Regions from separate parts of the Homo sapiens genome. Here all the other regions are linked to region 4. Evidence: promoter capture Hi-C in 16 types of primary human blood cells and fetal thymus (Javierre and others, 2016). All regions are on one chromosome and are shown on one strand. The core of a region is centred on a gene start or on the middle of the fragment in contact, and the rest is flanking DNA. Distances in the headings are between cores, read along the strand shown. Region 1 overlaps GRID1 (glutamate ionotropic receptor delta type subunit 1). Region 2 overlaps GRID1 (glutamate ionotropic receptor delta type subunit 1). Region 3 overlaps GRID1 (glutamate ionotropic receptor delta type subunit 1). Region 4 holds the start of GRID1 (glutamate ionotropic receptor delta type subunit 1). Region 5 overlaps GRID1 (glutamate ionotropic receptor delta type subunit 1).

The links. The method cuts DNA at HindIII sites, captures the fragments that hold promoters and counts their contacts. A CHiCAGO score of 5 or more calls a contact.
Region 1: a fragment that was not itself captured here is called in contact with the fragment with the promoter of GRID1 in region 4 in 1 of 17 cell types (M2 macrophages); the score reaches 7.3 in M2 macrophages.
Region 2: a contact is called between a fragment that was not itself captured here and the fragment with the promoter of GRID1 in region 4, in 3 of 17 cell types (M0 macrophages, M1 macrophages and M2 macrophages). The highest score is 8.6, in M0 macrophages.
Region 3: a contact is called between a fragment that was not itself captured here and the fragment with the promoter of GRID1 in region 4, in 2 of 17 cell types (M0 macrophages and M2 macrophages). The highest score is 5.7, in M0 macrophages.
Region 5: a contact is called between a fragment that was not itself captured here and the fragment with the promoter of GRID1 in region 4, in 3 of 17 cell types (M2 macrophages, M0 macrophages and M1 macrophages). The highest score is 8.2, in M2 macrophages.

Annotation. Positions count from the first base shown.
Region 1 is chr10:86,189,310-86,192,100 of GRCh38, reverse strand. All of the region lies in intron 3 of GRID1 (glutamate ionotropic receptor delta type subunit 1), which reads left to right. Among named protein-coding and RNA genes, the nearest start is that of MIR346, 74 kb to the left of the region's middle. The HindIII fragment of the contact is 8,553 bases long and covers 1-2,791 here.
Region 2 is chr10:86,152,230-86,154,929 of GRCh38, reverse strand. All of the region lies in intron 3 of GRID1 (glutamate ionotropic receptor delta type subunit 1), which reads left to right. Among named protein-coding and RNA genes, the nearest start is that of MIR346, 110 kb to the left of the region's middle. The HindIII fragment of the contact is 6,972 bases long and covers 1-2,700 here.
Region 3 is chr10:86,129,046-86,131,745 of GRCh38, reverse strand. The region is part of intron 4 of GRID1 (glutamate ionotropic receptor delta type subunit 1); the gene reads left to right. Among named protein-coding and RNA genes, the nearest start is that of MIR346, 130 kb to the left of the region's middle. The HindIII fragment of the contact is 8,832 bases long and covers 1-2,700 here.
Region 4 is chr10:86,365,358-86,368,057 of GRCh38, reverse strand. It overlaps GRID1 (glutamate ionotropic receptor delta type subunit 1), which reads left to right and starts at 1,263. Exons shown (of 16, transcript NM_017551.3): 1 at 1,263-1,744. The coding sequence starts at 1,666. RefSeq lists silencers at 565-774, 885-1,274, 1,295-1,344, 1,575-1,774, 1,805-1,954. The HindIII fragment of the contact is 11,562 bases long and covers 1-2,700 here.
Region 5 is chr10:86,172,847-86,175,546 of GRCh38, reverse strand. The region is part of intron 3 of GRID1 (glutamate ionotropic receptor delta type subunit 1); the gene reads left to right. Among named protein-coding and RNA genes, the nearest start is that of MIR346, 91 kb to the left of the region's middle. The HindIII fragment of the contact is 4,970 bases long and covers 1-2,700 here.

The DNA.
Region 1 (2,791 bases), core at 28-2,527, 180 kb after region 4:
TCATCCTTCATTCTGCCACCAAAGTCACCTTCCTTAACTCACTGCCCTGCTTAGACCCCTGAATGTCTCCCCCTCTCCTTAAGGATCAAGTTCAGATCCCTTCTCGCAGTGCACAGGGCCTCCAAGGTCTGTCTCTCCCTGGCCTTTCTCTCATCACTCCCTCAAGACCTCTGTGTCCCAGCGACGCAGGATGGATCAGCAGGGGTGCCATCAGGAACACATGGCCCACTCCAGGTCATTCAGAGGAGGGGATTTAACATGAGGAACTACTGACAAGTGCTGGCAGAGTTGAGGACAGGTGGAGTGGAAGCAGCCCAGACTAACAACTGGGCAGGGCTGGAGTGACTCCCAGGGCTCGAGGGATGAATGGGAGAGATGGTCCTGGAGCCATGACTGTCCAGTGGGTACTGGGACCTCATAGAGGGGCCACCCTGAGGGAACTGGGAGCATGTGGGAGACCCAACCATGGCCAGAGACACTGGAAGCAGAGAGAGGGTGAAATACCTGGCTTCCTCCTCCTCCTGTGCCTGAGTCTCCTGACCATGCTTCTCAGTGGTCAGTGGTAATCAGCAGGATAGGGAGTCTGGGAAGGGGAGGGGTGGGCACTCTAGAGGGAAGAACAGGGGAGGGTGGGGGATGGATGTGACTGCAATCTGCACTCCCCACCACACCCAGGGACTCACCTTCCTGAATGTGTCCCAGTCACACCCCACCATCCCACATGGCTCCCCGACCTGGACCAGCCACCTCACTGCCTGAAAGCTATTCCTCCATCCTCAAGACTTATTTGAGCGTCTCCTTGTTTTGGAAGTTTCCTCTCTTCTCCTTGTTCCCCTGCCAGGTGGGCTGTCCCTTCTCTGGGTTCCACAGATGCCCTCTGTGCATCTCACCCCAGGTTACTGGGCCATAATTACTGACTTCCTTTTCTCCCTCCCTCTGGACAGTAAGCTCCTCCAGGGTGAAAAGCCTGCTTTACCTGACTTTGAGTCTGTGGCATCAAATGCATGTAACAGGCCTGAGCAGATGCTTATTGTGCGATTCAGCAACTAGGTTAGAGGTGACAGAAATAAAAAGCCCAGAGATCTGGAGCTCTCTTTCTCACACACACAATATGTGCATGTGTGTTCACACAGGCACATGCATTTGAGCACACACAGATGCACATGTGCATGCAGGTACACACTCATGCATGCATGCACGTACACACTCATGCATGCATGCACGACTATGCACACATGTGCACATAGACACATGCATGTGAACACCCACACATCTGAAGTGCCTGTAGTCATTAAAGTTAGAGGTGCAGATGAATGTGGTCTGAGGCTAGCTATGAATCTTACTAACAGTCACCAAGAAAGATCAATACATTAACTCTTTTCTTCTAAGTTGGCATGAGGTTTCACTGGAGGGCCTCGGCAGCTCAAGGTGAAGTTCTTCCTGAGGCCTTCCTTCTAGCCTGGCTTGTGCAGGGAAGGGAGAGCCAGGTGAGCTCCAGGGGCCCTGCACACCTGCAGGATGGGGATGGGCATGTCAGGGGTGCCTTTGGTTCATCTGGGACCTAACCAGGTCTTGGCTACTGCCACTGCAGTCAGAGGACCTGGCTACAGAGCCAGGCTGTAGCCATGGGGCACTGCCCAGCCCCTCCCTGACACCAGCACAGCCAGGCTTCATGGGCCCCCACACCTGTTGTGGGGCCCAGGGGCAGCAAAGGGAGGAGGTATGTGGGGTGCACTGGAGCCTGTGCACAGGGGCTCGTGTGAGCCACTGGGCCACCTCTTCCCAACTCTGTGTTTGGTCACAGCACTTCAGTGACTAGAAATCAGTCCCGGTGGGAATATTTACTTCATGGAGGCCAGTAAGTGCCACATGTCAGAGCTTCTTATTCTGGAGGGCCGGTTAGGATCACACCATGTGTCCCACTCACATAGTGTTTGTGACCTGCTTGGGGGTGGGCGACTAGATGGTGACACAGAGGATATTCAAGGTAACGGTGTGTTTTGAAGGGAAGGCAGGAGCCTGGGGCCGAGTCACGGAAGGCATGCGGTGGACTTGCACTGGGTTTTGGAAGGCAGGGAGGGCTTGGGCAGAGGGAGACAGAGGTCCCAGGAGGTAACAGCCTGAGCACAGAGAAGCACGAGGGTCAGAGAGTGGGGTGTTAGCAAGGAGGGTTAGGTGAGTTTTCAGGCAAAAGAGAAGGGCCTGGAAAGCCATGTTAGGAGTTGACCTTTGTCCTTGCAGGGCAGGGGTTCTTAGTGGGCACAAGAGCCTCCTCCCACCTCTGGCCCCGGGGACATTTGGCAGCGTCTGGGGACATTTGTGTTTCTCTGTCATAACAGGGGATAGGGAGGAGTACTAGTGGCCTCAGTGGGTAGAGGCCAGGGATGCTGATAAACATCGCACAGCACCCGCTTAAGACAGCCCCTGACAGTAAAGAACTTTCTGGCCTCAAGTGTCAATAGTAGGTAACAGGGCATAGGTAATAGGGAGCTATTGCAGGTTCATGGTCAGGGATCTATAAAGTTGTGTTTTTAGTGCAGTTTGTGGAATAGAGTGGAAATGTGTGCATGTGATGTGTGTGTGTGTGCGTGTGTGTGTGTGTGTAGAGGGTAGGGATGCTGGGGAAAAGGAGACCACAGGCAGGGGAGTAATGAGGAGGCTGTGTCAGGACTTCTGGGATGGTGATGAGGGCTTACTGGGGGTGGTAGCAGTGAGACCACAGCATAGAAGACACATGGGGCCACTTTGTAGCAGGAAGTGACGGGAGTTGGAAGCCGACTAGTTAGGCCAG
Region 2 (2,700 bases), core at 30-2,529, 210 kb after region 4:
TGGGGTTGCTGGGGTGAGTAAATGAGACGGGGAGTGTGTGGGGCTTGGTACAGTGCTGGGTGCACTGCTGGGGTGTCCCCTGGTTTTGCTCCCGGAGAGGTGGCAGCGAGCAGAGGTGTGTGCTCTTGCCCAGCTTACGATGGCAGCTCTGTCAATTCCTCCTCTTCAGTTTGCACAGCCTAGCTCAGGTGTGGGCTTCTGTTGGACTCGAGCTTCTACTCCTGGACAAGAAATTGCATTTCTGTAATTAATTTGAACATTTTTTCCATGTGACTTTTCTGAGCTGCTATTGCATGCCAGGCTCCATGCTTGGACCTGGGAGTATGCAGTGGTGAGAAAGATTCCCAGGATCTGCAGCCACTCTCTAGAGACACCTGCTCCTGCTGGGATGGACCCCCTTGGATATGGAGGTTGGTCAAGAAGCCGGGGGCCCTTCTGGAGACCAGGGTGTGGACTGTGGCCCTTGGGGCTCGACATTCTGTTGTATCACTCTCCTGGAGGTGGCAGAGCTGGACAGAATCAGACCTCCTGGCTCAGCCCTTGTTACTAGAGTGCCTGAAGCTCTCTAGGCCCCAGTTTTTTCCTCTGTAAAGAAGGAATGAAAATCCTGCTCCCGTAGGCTTGCTGTGAGGAGGAAATGAAGGGGAGAGAGTGGGACAGTGCAAAGAAGGGACTTCATAAGCCATAAATGGGGGCTCACTTCCCTACTCCCCTCACCCAGCGTTCCTGGCAGGAAGGACATCTACCCTTGGGAGGAGGAGAGGGGACAGTGTTGGTCTGGGCAGGTATTTCCCATGGTTGCAGCCCCACCCCACTGGCATTGATCATACTATTAGTCCAGTTGTCTGCACCTTCCTCGGAGCCCAAGAGCAACTCTGGCATTTCCAGGGCCTTCCGGCGGCCTGTGATGGATGGCTCCACCGTCCAGTCCATGCTTGTGCCAGGCCTGGGCGGGTGCGGCATGTGATGGATCAGCCCGAGGATGGTATTTTGGAAGGAAAATTCAAATTATATTTTAAGATAATACCCTGCCTCCCCGCCCCCACCCTACATCCCATTTGTAATCTGGCCCAAGAGGTTCTGGCAGGAGGTAACGAGTTTGTGATGGATGGGTAGGCAGCCCCATTAGGCCTGCAGATCCTGCCTCTTAATTAATATTGATGTGGCTTTAATTTGGGGGCTTAGCAGGCATGTTTTGGTGGCGGGGCTCTGTGGGGTTGCAGAGGCCCTGGGCCATCTGTGTTGCTCCTAGCATGGCTTGGCTGCCTGGGCTGGGGTATCCAGCCATGTCCCCATGCTGTTCTTGCAGAGCTCCTGGCCTCTGCTGACCACCAGCCCCATCTTGAGCAGCATGATGTCCCTAGACATGGAATTGGGAAGCAATGACACCCATTATTTCTGGTGTTTCAGATAGGATAGACATTAATAGCCTCAAGAGCGCAGATAATAGTAAAATGCAGCAAAATAATTAGGGAATGATGAACTTTGTGTATTTATCAATTTTGTTTGTTAATATAATTTAATTATAGGTTTATATAATTTAATCCATACTGGCTATGTTTAATAACTGGCTTGCAAATTCCTGAAAATTTAACAATAGGCTCTGGCAAGGTGGTAGGATGGGCTCCAGCCCACTGAGTGTGTGTGAGTGCAGGTGAGTGTGAGCACTGGTGAGCTGGAATACCTGAGCGTGTGTGTGTGAGTGAATGTGTCAGTCAGGGAGGCCTTCCTTTGCACCCAGACTCAGGCATGGGGTGGAGTCCCAGATGCCACCTGACCTGGCACCCACTGGGCTCAGGCACGGGAAGCTCTGTGGCACCCTGGAGCTCAGGCAGAGTGAGGTTCCTCTGCAGAAGTGGCGTCAGGAGGCCCACAATGAGGGGTGGTGGCATCTGTGGGCCCCTTGCTGTGGCTTCACTTCTGGCTCTGGTTGCCACTGTCCCTTCAAAGACAGGTTCCCGAGGAAACAAATTAAACCCGAGTAAATATCAGAAAGTAATTATGTAAATTAAATACATAATTTAAAGAACACTTGTCATGAGGTCAGTGGAAAGCTGTGAAGGCAGAAGCCTCCCTGTCAGGGCTGGCAAGGCACAGGCGGGTGAGGGGTGGCAGCCGCACTGGAGAGGATGGGCTGCTGTTCCGAGCAGCCTGCCCCTCACACGGGCTCTGTCCCAGGTGCTTCATGTCTGTCCTTCTGTGTGCCCCTCACAGTGGTCCTACCCCTAGACAGCCTCACTCTGCCCAATTTAGAGGCAGTGGCTGAGGCTCAGGGAGCTTAAGAGCCGTGCCCAGGCCAGAGATGGCTACCCATGAGTCCACCTCCCCTGTGGCAGGCCCCAAAGCCCAGGCTCTTTCTCCCACAGGGGAGCCACAGCCCTGCCCTGAAGTGGCCTCCCTGAGAGCTAGGCAGCATCTGCTCCAGCTATGGGGGCTCTCGGGCGCAGAGCGGGGCTTCAGGGCTCACTCCAGTGCAGTGTCTCCGTTGCTGTCATCCTTTCTCTGCCTCAGAGACAGGAGGCAGTGGGCAGGAGTGGTGGGCTTGGCATGGCTGGGCCCTAGGCCCTGGTCTCAGGGTTTTCTGGCATCCCTCCTGCCCAGAAATGCCACTGTGGCTATCCTTCTGTGGGCACACAAGGTCCCACACCCCTCATACCCAAACAGAACCACACACAGGTCTACAGCTGGGCTGTTGGGTTC
Region 3 (2,700 bases), core at 123-2,622, 240 kb after region 4:
TAATGTTTGATTTTTGATATTTCAAAGGAGCATCTAAGCAATCATCAGGGAAAAAGGCCTGAGTGCCGCTGGACTTTCTGGTGTTTATTTTCTGGTTGGCTGTTGTTTCTATTTTGAGTTCCATCTCAAATCATGCCATCCCATTCTTGGTGCTCTGGGGTGCTGAAAGCCTTACAGAGACTGTCTGGGAGGCCTGTCTGGGGTCAAAGAGAACTGTGAACCTGAAGCATGGGCCTGAAGACACCTGGTGGCCTTTCCTTCCTTTGTGGGTCATTAAATAGCGGAGCAGAGTGTCAGCTCCTCCCTGCAGAGTATCTATGGCTTATTAGCAGGTAGCCCCTTTGGCCAAGGAGGCAGCAGACATGAGAAATAGGCATTTACAAAGGGAAACAGCCTGCAGCAGCCGAAATGGCTCAATTACCCTTTCTGCTCCCGGATCCCCAAGGGTGTTCAGCCTTGGGGGGGCCTCGCCTCTGAGCCTGAGGTGAGTCAGCCTGCTTGTTGACTGAAGAGCTGATTGGGGAGCTCAGCGGGGAAGCTGTAAGAAGACGTGGTGGGATGCAGGGGGAGGGGGCGGGTCATGAGAGGCAGAAATGAGAGAGATTATCTAAATTGGTATGAATTTATCTCAGAGAAGCTATCTGTGCCATGTAGTCCACATCTGGTGCCATTCTCTGCACATGGCATCCCTAAACAGAGCCCTCTCCTGGTGCCGGTGAGATAAGAGAGTTCCCTGACCCCACTCGCAGGACGTGTGATAGGGACGTGGCTCCTTTGTTTGGCTGCTTGCTCCTTACGGGATGGGGGGCACGCAGACGGGCAGGTGCAGGAACTGGGGTGAGCGCTTTTGGGCTCTGGCCCCACGGTAGCACTAGGGGTGGGTGCCTGTGACTCCCAAAGCCCCAGTGGGCATGTTACAGTGCTCTTTTAGCTCCTGCCATCTGCAGATGGCTTAAGCGTTAACCAGCTCAGCGCCCTCTTGGTACTCAGATCCTTGTCTGGCAACCAGGAAGAATCAGGTCACACAGACAAGTTAAAGGATGGTAAATGCAGGGGATTTTATTGCCAGATGGAAGTGGCTCTCAGTAGGATGGATGGGGAGCTGGAAAGGGGTTGGAGTGGGAAGACTATATTCCCCTGGAATTCTACCATCCTGCAGCTGATCTTCTCTCTGACTGTCTCCAACCGAACTCCTCTCGACATTCAGATGCTCCTTCTCTCCTCTCCTTCTCTACTGTGTCGCTCTTCTGTTCCTCTGCCCTTCTGCTTATGGAGCCTGGGATTTGGGGTTTATATGGGTACAGGCATGGCAGGCCAAAAGGCAACATTTGTGTGTGAAAACAGGAATGACTGTTCCCATTTAGGGCTGTGAGTTTCCAGGCTTGAGGGTGGAGCCTTTGCTGGGGAACTTCCCTCTTCTACCCAGTATTTCCTGGCCTCCTGTCTACATCACTGGTAGGAATCTGGCCTTGGTCACCTGCCATCTGTGCTTGAGCTGCCAGTCCCCTTGGAGAGAAGAAGGGCTCTGCATCAGCTAGCTGTGTGTCCTAAAACTCAGTGTCATGCAACAGTAAGCATGTGTTGTTACTCATGAACCTAGTGGTCAGCAGACCTGGGTTAGATTCACTGGATCTCAGCTGGGCTGGCTCATGCATCTGGGCTGGCTGGTGAGGATGGCACTGGCCAGCTGTAAGCTGGGGTGATGAGCCTGCCCCTTGACAAGCACACTAGCCCAGGCTTATTCATGTGGCAGCAGCGGAGTTCCAGGAGACCAAGTGTGAGTGCTCAGGGCTGCTTGAAGCCTGAGCTCAGACCTGGTGCATTGTGACTTCTACTGCAATCTCTTGTCCAGAGCAAGCCATGAAGTCAGCTCAACAGGCAGGGGAAAGAGACTCCTCCTCTAGATGGAAGACTGCTCTTGAGGGGGGAACTGGAAAGTCACATTGCCAAGGGAGTGGCTGCCTTGAAGGACAGAGAGTTGGGACCATTTTGTTGTCCATCTAGCATAGGCCCTAGTGTGCAGATGAGCTTCCTGGGTGGAAGCAGATGGTGGCAGTTCTGCAGGTGACCTGGGGCCATGTGCCTTCTCACTCTTACTTTGCTTCAACATTGTTCAACTTTGGGGTGAACATGGTAAAGAGGGGGATGTGGAGCAGAGGGAGGGATGAAGACAGGCTTTATTTATCAAGTTCACCATATTCAGACCCTGAAACTCACCGAATCTTCTCAACAATGCTGGAAGAGAAGGGCTAGGATGGAGCTTTGAGCCTGTGGGGATTTTGGGGTTTGCTCATGGTCTAAAAGATGAAAAATGACAGAGCTGGGCTATGAATGCTGAACACCCTGACTCAAAGCCCAGCTTTTTTCTACTATGTGCTGTTGGGAGAGGAGGCTTGTTGCCATTGACAGATCAAGGGAGAGCCCATTTTTCTCCTGGAGTGTGACACAGAGCAGACTAGGTGAACATTGCCACGGAGTAGCAGGTAGCATGAGGAGGGGGACTGGACACCTCTGAATGCTCATATGGAGATGGGGACAACCCCCAGTCCTCTCTCGGCCAACACATCTGCAGAGAGCCTGAGGGGATGGATTGGCTGCCTCTGTGTCTCCATGGTCAACTAGAAGAGCAGTTTCTACAACCTCCCAGGCACCCGAGAGTCTGAGGACATTTTATATAGGCTTTCTGTCTACAGGGCAGGG
Region 4 (2,700 bases), core at 14-2,513:
ATGCCTGGAAGCCTTATTTTCTCCCTTGGGAACCTCCACTCAGTCTTTACAACTGTCATCTCCTCCAGGAAGTCATCCCTGCTCTTCTTCCCAGGCTGGTTCAGAGCCCAGGCATCTGAGCATACACAGCTCATTCATAGCCCCCCCCAACATTTAAAAGATGACTTGGTTGGGTGTCTGCCTCGCCCACTGCGCTGGGAGCTCTGGGCAAGGGCTGTGGTGGGAGCCTCTCCCCCTGGTGCGTGGCGGGAGTCCTGGGGCCCCTCCGCGGACAACAGGGCCCGGGGACGTTCCCAGGCTTGCTGGAGGAGCAGCTTTTGAACGAGGCTCTGCCAGGTCCCAGACCCCAGGAAGCTCAGCTGTCTCCTCGAAATCTTGGGGGTGCCACATGGAGCCCAGTCCCTTTCAGGCACGAGCCCACAACAGCTTAACGCTCTCTTTGGTGGTGGCCGGCCCGAGGCAGGCACCGGAGGCGGAGGGAGCCCTGTTCCGCTGTGGCCGCGAGGAGCGGGCTCTTCGCCCGGGCTCGCACATGAAAGCTCCGTGCAGGGTCGGAGTCTGAGCCCGCCGGCCGCTTGGAAGGCTCCTCACGTCCAGGCGCCGCGGTCACGGCTGCGCTGGTTTCCGGCCATGAATTGGGCTTCAGAGTCCGAGCCTCTTGCCCGACTCCCGGCTGAGCGCGCTGCCCATGGAGCGGGGGATGGGCGCCCGCCGAGGTCCGCGCGGCCAGCCAGGGTTCGAGCCCACGGCCCGGGCTCTACTCTGAGATGCTTGCGGCGGCCGGCCCCCTCTGGCTCCCCAGCTGTCCTGGGGCCTGGCCCGGCGCCCCGCCCCGGTCTCTCTTCTTGCTCCCCAGGTCCCACTCCACGAGGAACGGTCTGTTTCGGCCGGGGACATGACCCGAGACGCGCGGCTGCTGAGGTCGCCAGGGCGCTTCGGGAGCCCCTCGAGGGCAGTTAGCGGCCGGCCCTCCTCCATTCTCCCGCCCCTGGCGAACCGGAGAAGGAGGCCCGAACCGTCAGAGCTCGGCGCGCCGCAGCCCAGGCCGGTCCCCGCCGCTGTGCCGGTCTCCGAGCGTCCCCCGAGCCGGGAGCGTGGAGCACCCGGCGCCCCCTCCGAGCCGCGAGCGGGCGAGAGCCGCGCGGCGAGGCTGAGGCTCCGCAGTCACGTGGTAGAGAGGCGGGCGGAGGGGAGGGAGGCGGGCAGGGAGGGGAGGGGGAGCGGAGCTGAGGGGGAGGGGGAGGGGAGGGGGCGTCCTCCGCAGTTCGCTCCTCGCCGGGGCTCAGACACACAGCCAGCCCAGAGCCGCCACGCCGGCCCGGCCGCCGCCGCCACCGCCTCAGCCTCCCCCGAAGCCGCTCTAGCCGCGGGAAGCGCCGCTGCCACAGCCGCGGGCCGCCCCCGCCGCGCCGGCCTGGGCTCAAGCTGCCAGCACCGCCGCAGCCGCCACCGGAGCCGGAGCGGGAGCCCGACCGCGCTGGGCTGGGCTGGGCTGGGCTGGGGCGGGCGCAGGGCGCAGGGGCGGGCGCGCGGGGGAAGACGCACGGGCGGGCTCGGCTCTCCCGGGGAGCGGCCCGGGACTGCACCGGGACCAGCGCCTCCCCGCTTCGCGCTGCCCTCGGCCTCGCCCCGGGCCCGGGTGGATGAGCCGCGCGCCCGGGGGACATGGAAGCGCTGACGCTGTGGCTTCTCCCCTGGATATGCCAGTGCGTGTCGGTGCGGGCCGACTCCATCATCCACATCGGTAAGCGCGGCTGGAGGCCGGGCCGAGGCTGGGCGGGGGCCCCAACGGGGCAGGGGGTGCGCGGCGTCCAAACTTGGCGTTTCCCTGGGCCGAGGGGCTCGGCGGGCGGTGCTCCCCCGAAGGGCCGCGCCGCGCCGCCCGGCGGAGGAGCTGTGCACCGGCCGCGCCGCGCTCCCGCTGGCTGCTTGCCGCTCCCCGGGGCTCCGATCTCCGCGCGGGGCCCCGCGGCCTCTACCGACACTTAGGGCCGACGCTTCGGGGAACACCGGGATGGACGCGCGTCGAGACCCGCGCCCTTAGCGGGGCCGTCGGCGGGTCGGGAGGGCCCTTCTGCGCAGCTCAGAGCAGCGGGGGGCAGGGGGAGGTACAGCGGGGGGCTCGCCAAGTTGGCAGGGCAAGATCAAAGAGGCCGGACCGGAACCGTGTGTGAATGTGTGTGGGTGCGTGTTGTCAGCGTGTGTCGCTGTGTGCGCCTGGCACGGTGTCGGTGTTACTGTGAGAGGGTGTTGGGGTGTGTGGGGCCATCTGAGCGTGTGTTGGTGCGTGCACGACTGTCTGTCAGCCTGTTAGAGTGGACACAGTGTCTGCCTGCTTCTCCGGTGTGTGTCTGTGTAGCCCTTGGTGTATGTGTGAGTGCGTGTGTATCTGGTTGTGGCGACTGCATCCCCATCCTGGACAGTCCTAGAGTTTTGCGTGGTCCAAGTCTTGGGGGCCCAGACGGTCTGGGTGGTGGGAGCCGAGGGAAGAAGCGTGGGCAGCGGGGGGTAGGGGGATGCTGAGCGGGAAGAGATGGATAGAGAGAGAGAACCGGGAGAGAAGATGAAAGCGCAGAGGAGGAGGGGGCGCGCCGAGGGGGAGTGGGCGCGCCGAGGGGGAGTGGGTGGGAGTTGGGAGCAACACGGGAGGAATCTCGGGAAGTTGGGCCGAGTTGGGGGGCTGACAGCGGTCGCTTTGGG
Region 5 (2,700 bases), core at 161-2,660, 190 kb after region 4:
AGTGGGCAGATGGGGTGGGTTCGAGAGATGGCAGGAAGAGAGGAAGTGGAGCCAGCTGGCTAGGTCATATGGAATTCTCTTTGTCAAAGGGTATGGAGGCATGGTGGCCATTGAAGGAGGGATCATGGTATCAAGAGGGAGATGTTTTTATAAAGACAGAGGGTAACTTAGGCCACCACTTTCTTGGAGTCTTTTTTTTTTTTTTTGCTTTATTGAGGGCAAAGAGGTAGAGGAAATGGCCTTTTGGGAGTAAGTGAGTGAGAAAGGGGAGAGAGAAATACACAGAGAATAACCAGATCCACAAGTTGAGACAGTCTATCTGCGGCTACTCCCTGTACCCATCCCTATAGCTATTGCTGTATCTATATCTAAACACATATACTTCCCCTGCCACGCATATTCACACACATCTTTATAGAACTTTCAATGATTTCCAAAGATCCTGTGGAATACTGGTGTGCTGCCTTGTGGGGAGAAAAGAAGACTGAGCTAGTTTACAGTCCCACCAACAGTGTAAAAGTGTTCCTATTTCTCCACATCCTCTCCAGCACCTGTTGTTTCCTGACTTTTTAATGATTGCCATTCTAACTGGTGTGAGATGGTATCTCATTGTGGTTTTGATTTGCATTTCTCTGATGGCCACTGATGGTGAGCATTTTTTCATGTGTTTTTTGGCTGCATAAATGTCTTCTTTTGAGAAGTGTCTGTTGATGTCCTTCACCCACTTTTTGATGGGGTTGTTTGTTTTTTTCTTGTAAGTTTGTTTGAGTTCATTGTAGATTCTGGATATTAGCCCTTTGTCAGATGAGTAGGTTGCGAAAATTTTCTCCCATTCTGTAGGTTGCCTGTTCACTCTGATGGTAGTTTGTTTTGCTGTGCAGAAGCTCTTTAGTTTAATTAGATCCTATTTGTCAATTTTGGCTTTTGTTGCCATTGCTTTTGGTGTTTAGACATGAAGTCCTTGCCCATGCCTATGTCCTGAATGGTAATGCCTAGGTTTTCTTCTAGGGTTTTTATGGTTTTAGGTCTAATGTTTAAGTCTTTAATCCATCTTGAATTAATTTTTGTATAAGGTGTAAGGAAGGGATCCAGTTTCAGCTTTCTACATATGGCTAGCCAGTTTTCCCAGCACCATTTATTAAATAGGGAATCCTTTCCCCATTGCTTGTTTTTCTCAGGTTTGTCAAAGATCAGATAGCTGCAGATATGTGGCGTTATTTCTGAGGGCTCTGTTCTGTTCCATTGATCTATATCTCTGTTTTGGTACCAGTACCATGCTGTTTTCGTGACTGTAGCCTTGTAGTATAGTTTGAAGTCAGGTAGCGTGATGCCTCCAGCTTTGTTCTTTTGGCTTAGGATTGACTTGGCGATGCAGGCTCTTTTTTGAAAGTCAATGTGGCGATTCCTCAGGGATCTAGAACTAGAAATACCATTTGACCCAGCCATCCCATTACTGGGTATATACCCAAAGGACTATAAGTCATGCTGCTATAAAGACACATGCACACGTATGTCTATTGTGGCACTATTCACAATAGCAAAGACTTGGAACCAACCCAGAAGTCCAACAATGATTGACTAGATTAAGAAAATGTGGCACATATACACCATGGAATACTATGCAGCCAAAAAAAAATGATGAGTTCATGTCCTTTGTAGGGACATGGATGAAATTGGAAATCATCATTCTCAGTAAACTATCACAAGAACAAAAAACCAAACACCGCATATTCTCACTCATAGGTGGGAATTGAACAATGAGAACACATGGACACAGGAAGGGGAACATCACATTCTGGGGACTGTGGTGGGGTGGGGGGAGGGGGAAGGGATAGCTTTAGGAGATACACTTAATGCTAAATGACGAGTTAATGGGTGCAGCACACCAGCATGGCACATGTATACATATGTAACTAACCTGCACATTGTGCACATGTACCCTAAAACTTAAAGTATAATAAAATAAAATAAAAAAAAAGAAAAGAAGACTGAGGAGGAAAGTTTAGACTAAAAGTGATTTAAGAGATGTATCAAACAATTGGCTATATGTATAGACTTTGTCAGGATTCTGATTTGAAAAAATTATAAAAAAAAATGTGTGTGACCATGGGAAGATGTGAATACTGGCTGGATATTGGAAGATAGTAAGGGTTTGTTTACTTTTTGTAGGTATGCTTATGGCATTGCATTTAGAAAAAATTCTTGTCAGGCCAGGTGCAGTGGCTTATGCCTGTCATCCCAGTACTTTGGAAGGCCGAGGCAGGAGGATCACTTGAGGCCAGGAATTTGAGACCAGCCTGGGCAACATAGCAAGACCCTGTGTCTACAAAAAACAATAAAAATTAGCCAAGCATGGTGGCACACACCTGTAGTCCCAGCTACTTGGTAGGCTGAAGTGGGAGGATTGCTTGAGTCCAGGAGATCAAGGCTGTAGTGAGACGTGATTGGGCCACTGCACTCCAGCCTGGGTGACAGATATTCTGTCTGTTAAAAACAAAATAAAACAAAAACAGGAAAAATCCTTGTCTTTTGGAGACACAATTGAAATGTATACATGTGAAAGATGTGATGCTGGAGATTTTCTTCAACTTAATTTGAGGGTGGGTGAGGTGTAGGTGGTAACAACTGAAGTTGGGTAAGACATACACAAGGCCCACTACCCTTTTTTCCAATGTTTGAAATTTTTTTATAATAACAAGT